Linked DNA regions of Homo sapiens: region 2 is linked to region 1. Evidence: promoter capture Hi-C in 16 types of primary human blood cells and fetal thymus (Javierre and others, 2016). All regions are on one chromosome and are shown on one strand. Each heading gives the region's core, a stretch centred on a gene start or on the middle of the fragment in contact. The rest is flanking DNA. Distances are from core to core; before and after follow the strand shown. Region 1 holds the start of TMEM252 (transmembrane protein 252). Region 2 overlaps PGM5 (phosphoglucomutase 5).

Region 1 (2,700 bases), core at 175-2,674:
ATTGATTAGAATGAAGTCACTAGGTCCAGCCTACACTCAGGGGAGAGGATTACTTACACAAGGACATGAATATCAGGAGGTGGGATCCTTAGGGATCATCTTAGAAATATTCCATCTCACAGTTTGGGGAAGGAGGGAATAAGAGCTGTTTTAAGATTACAAAGACAATATCAAGACTAGAAGATCAAGGTAGTTCAAGGTCGAAATTGAAGCTAAGAAAGGTAAAGGCTAAGGGTTGGAATGGAGAAGTGCCTTATATAGTTTTTGATCCATAGTGTGTACCTCTCTAATATCCGTGTCTCCCAGCCCTAACATGAAGGTAGAGCTAAGGAGATGGTGAGTGTGAGACTAAAGGTTATATGAGGGATTATTAGGGCACGCCACAAAAAACTGCTGCTCTCATTGGGAAAGTAAATGGAAAATAATGGTAATGGAGTAGTGGAGTGGAACAGCAGCAAAGAGGAACTGAAGATAAGCTATCCTGAGTAAAAGCAACCCAGGGTTCCTATGGGAAGGAGACTTTTGGCAGAGACATGCCACATTATCAAATAAAAAAGGGCAGAGCCAGGGCATAAAGCACGTCTGAAATAAGCTATCCACAATCAAAGACAGTCAAGCTAAAGAAAACAAATTCCAGCCAGGAAACAGAAGGCTGGTTCTGGAAAGATTTTTTGAGGCAATGCTACATAGAGCAGAGGTGTGGAGGAGAGGACAGGGAACATTTTTAGCAGCATCCTCTAAAACGAATTCTATTTCATATGTACTTTATGAAAGGGGGAAAGATTGCAGGAATTACAGGCCCAAAATCCCCCCAAATTCCCGAGGCTCTGTCTATTATAGTCCTTTTCTCCAGCACTCTCCTTTCCCTCCCACTCAGGCTCTTTCGATCTTGTCAACAGAGCAGGAACCACGAAGTTCACACTCTGAACTTCTGTCTTGGAATTATGCCAGTATCATAGTGTGGGGGCAATAAGTGGGGATTCATTGAGGGAGGCAAGACAAACATGTTAACAGCCTTGAAGAAATGCCTTTTTAGTACAGAAAAAGGGAGAAGGAATCAGGAAGGGATTTCTTACCAAACCTCAAAGAAGATCGTTCTTTAAAGAGTGCTAACTTCTCCAGCTTTTAGTGGGGAATTGCCCTCCATGGGGATTAAGAGACCAGCGCCTTTTAATCAAAGGAGGGCTGTACGTTCAAATAACTGGGAACAGCTGAGTGTCCCACCCAACTCTGAAGAACAAAACAGCTACACGAAGCCACTCCTGCCTGCAGTATACAATGCTATGTTTTTTGGCTAATTCTCCAAGGATATTACACTTACTTTCAATGGTTAATGAATAGCTTCTAAGTGCCTGTTTCATTTAGTTGTCCAAAGGCCAGTGGGTCCCAGAGCATATAAAGCTGCAAGCTGGCTAATGAGCTCATTCTCTTGGAGCAAGCAGGGAAGCAGAGGAGCAGCAGGGTCAGGGTGCTGGGTTCCTAAGGTGCAAGGATGCAGAACAGAACTGGCCTCATTCTCTGTGCTCTTGCCCTCCTGATGGGTTTCCTGATGGTCTGCCTGGGGGCCTTCTTCATTTCCTGGGGCTCCATATTCGACTGTCAGGGGAGCCTGATTGCGGCCTATTTGCTTCTGCCTCTGGGGTTTGTGATCCTTCTGAGTGGAATTTTCTGGAGCAACTATCGCCAGGTGACTGAAAGCAAAGGAGTGTTGAGGCACATGCTCCGACAACACCTTGCTCATGGGGCCCTGCCCGTGGCCACAGTAGACAGGTACGTGCTGACAGGCAGAGGGACCAAGAAGGGCTGAGATGGGCTGAGTTGTGTAAGATCTGAGTAATTTCTGATCCTACTATGGAGCGACTTACATGTCCCATGGGCTGTCTGTCTAGAACCAAAGCTTTATTGTCAGGGAATTACTCTGGGGTTGTTATTAGGAAGAGTGGCGCCATCTTTGGGGAAAACCATGACGCAGGGGCAACTCATCTCAGAGAAACCCTACCACCACCCCCAGTGAAAACCCACCTAAGCCAATTTAGAAACCCAGGCTCTTTTGTTATATCATGGCAGCTGTCATTAATTAGTGGCAGGTGATGGTTAGTTACTTCCCATAACCTGGCTATGAGGTTCTAAGGAAAGCAAGTCCCAGACCAAATTCTGCCACACAACAAATGAAGAAGCAGGCATAAAATGAGTCCTGGAATCTCTGTGAGCTCAGAAAAGTCCCAGTTTACTGTCCTTTTAGGTGTTGTGATCTCACCTTGCATAAAACATTCCTTCAGGGGAAGGTGATAATATTCTAGAGGCAAGATTCATTCTTTCTCGCCATCTCATACATTAGGATAGTTATCATCAAAAAACAAAACCAAACAGCTAGTGTTGGTGAGGATGTCAATAAATTGGAACGCTGTGCATTGCTGGTGGGAATGTTAAAATGGTGCAACCACTGTGGAAAACAGTGTGGAGACTCCTCTATACATTAAATATTGAATTACTGTTTGATCTGGCAATTCTACATTCTGAGTTTATACACAAAGGAACTGAAAGCAGGGATTCAAATGGATGTTTGTACACCAATGCTTGTAGCAACATTTATTCATAATAGCCCAAATGTCCATCAACAGGTGAGTAGATAAACAAAATGTGGTATATACATGCAATGGAATATTAGCCTTAAAAAGGAAGGAAATCCTGGCACATGCC
Region 2 (2,700 bases), core at 200-2,699, 120 kb after region 1:
CACCCCAAATTCCTCCTTTCCATTATACTCTCTGCCTCTGGGGAATGAAAATAGTTGCTGGGCAACTTCTGCAAGTTTTTAATCATGGACATAATTTTTAAATTTCAAGTGCTTTTGATAGTAAAGTCAGCTTAAAAAATATATAGCTAAAGCAGCATAAAGAGGTTTTACACACCAAATATCAACAACCACTACCACTATAAAAATCTTAGCTGAGAAGTCAGAAAGTATCGCTCTTTTTTTAAATCTAAAACTAAAAGGATGTGAAATGTGAAATCTAGTGTACTTTCGATACAAATTTATTTCCATTTAAATTATAGAAAACCACTTTGGGCATCTCTTAGTGCTTTTTGTGTCCTGAGTTTACTTACAATGAAAGTCAAGACTCTGCATCATTAATCAGTAAAATTTAACAAATTATCATACTGTTTGGCCAATGAACACAATTGATTCAAGATGATTTCTCTTCCACATGCCAAGAAAAAAAACAATGAACAAATAAACACCATTTACCCAGAATATTTAGCATGTGACCTATTCTGGATTAAAAATATTTCTAAAATGTAGGTATCTCAACTCCAAAATAGGATAATGCTTAGGATAGGATTTGATCCAAACTCAACTCCTCTTGGAGTGCTCTCTTGGGTTTTTTTCTCCATTATGTACATTAAGGAATATAAGATAAGATATATATTTATGAAATTTCAAGTCAATCTTCTCTAATGTACATAAACAATGGAAAGTCTCCACATCCCTCCATCACCAGCAATAGCTCCTGGGAATCTCCTCTACTCTAATCCTTACCACTCTCGACCCCTTTCATGGTGGATTGGACAACCAGATGGGATGCTTTCACTGTGGGCCCTGCCTGCCATCTTTTGAAAACAATTCAGCAGCTTGGATGCTTCTGCCATGTCATCAAGTGAGTTGCCTCTCCTGCGTTCCTCTTGCTCTTTTTTTCCTCACTCCTGTAGAACTTTTGATAACTCTGGCTTGTTCCTAAACTTGTGTTTTTGCTTGCCAAGGAACAGTAAAAGAGAAAGAGGTGACTTATACTAGAAAGAGCATACAGAAAAGCCCTCAAAAAAGATGATCTCCCATTATAATTATCTAACTGTTTATTTCAAATAAGAAACTTTTAAAACAATGAATAACAAATGAAGAGCTAGAGGATTATACCAAATTTGTCTTAGTAGAAATTTGTTTAATCATATAATTATATGAATTTCAGAGAAAGGAAGAAGGAGGTCAATTTTGGACCTCAGAAGACAGGTCTAACTAATAAGGGCAACTTGAAGTCATGGTGTCTGGTTTTGCAAGCGTTCTTTAAAATCAAACAGTGCAACCTCCCACTAGTCCCCTAAGAGACATTAATAGGTACACCTGGGATGGTAGTTCATTGGTCAAATATGTTTGGGAAATGCTACATTCTGTAGTCCTTACTGGAGAATCACAACAATCTGTCAAAAGCTATGAAAAGTGAAGAAGTTAAGAAACTTGCTTTATATTTATTTCATCCTTTTCCAAATTTATTTTGTCCATGGAACCCTTCTGCCTTGTTTAAGAACACCCATTAACATTTCTTGTGAGTAGTGCTATAGCTTTGGTTGACCCAAAATTCACATGTTGAAATCTAGTTATCAATAATATGATTTTAGGAGGTGGGACCTTTTGGGGGTGATTAGATCCCAAGGGCAGATCCCTTGTGAATGAGATTAGAGCCCTTATAAAAGAAGCCCCTGAGAGCTGCCTTGCCCCTTCCACCATGTGAGGACACAGCAAGAAGAAACCATGTATAAACCAGGAAGCCAGGCCCTCACCAGACACCCAACACACCAGCTCCTTGATTTTGGACTTCTCAGCTTTCAGTACTGTGAGAAATAAATTTCTGTTGTTCATAAGCCACACTGTCTGTGTTATTTTGTGACAGCAGCTGGAACAGACTAAGACAAAGGGTGTTCCATGAAACACTTTGTGGGAAATGCAAAGTTGAGTCTTTTCTACACTAAACAACATCTCAGGCTTTTTCAGCAGCTCTTCATAGGAAACTTTTCCAGATGCTTTACCTTCCTCGTTCATCATGAGGTCTGAGGCTTGCGGAGGGCAGATATGCATAGAGAGGAGAGAGGAGTTCTGAGATGAAGTTAGAAGAAAATTGGCCACAGACTATGTCTACTTATTTTGTCAAGAGATACAGCAGTAGTGAATTGGGTGGGTTTGGAAGTAAAACTCAGCCTCCTCAAATTCAGCCCAGTCTTCCCCATTTAGGTACATTCTGTTTCTCTAATACTGTTCTGTTTTCTTGTCCACTTCCTGCTCCTTCCATTGCAAGGAGGAAAGGAGGGGAGGGAATGGAGTTACGTGTATGCGTGACCACACTTTTCCCATGCAGAGGAACATGGTGTAGTATTTGAGGGATGTCTCTGACTATTTATGGAATTGCAAAGGGTCTTCAAGGGCCTCAGCCCCCAAAAGAAAGAGAGAAAGAGGGAGGCAGAGAGAGAGAGAGAGAGAGAGAGAGACAGAGAGAGAGAGAGAGAGAGAGAGATTTTGTGCTCTTGGGGTTATTTCCCAAAGGCTGCCATTCCAGGGGAAGAGAAACAACCTGATTGAACCTAATGTCAGCTCTGCATGCCATTCTCAACACCAAGCTCTTCAGTCCTGCTCCTCAGAGCACTCTCCCTTCAAAGGTGCCTCACC

Evidence for each region. The method cuts DNA at HindIII sites, captures the fragments that hold promoters and counts their contacts. A CHiCAGO score of 5 or more calls a contact.
Region 2: a fragment that was not itself captured here is called in contact with the fragment with the promoter of TMEM252 in region 1 in 1 of 17 cell types (neutrophils); the score reaches 6.4 in neutrophils.

What each region holds. Positions count from the first base shown.
Region 1 is chr9:68,539,607-68,542,306 of GRCh38, reverse strand. It overlaps TMEM252 (transmembrane protein 252), which reads left to right and starts at 1,424. Exons shown (of 2, transcript NM_153237.2): 1 at 1,424-1,770. The coding sequence starts at 1,493. It overlaps TMEM252-DT (TMEM252 divergent transcript), which reads right to left and starts at 1,282. Exons shown (of 5, transcript NR_187592.1): 1 at 1,077-1,282. The HindIII fragment of the contact is 3,743 bases long and covers 1-1,899 here.
Region 2 is chr9:68,423,478-68,426,177 of GRCh38, reverse strand. The region is part of intron 6 of PGM5 (phosphoglucomutase 5); the gene reads right to left. Among named protein-coding and RNA genes, the nearest start is that of PGM5-AS1, 67 kb to the right of the region's middle. The HindIII fragment of the contact is 9,480 bases long and covers 1-2,700 here.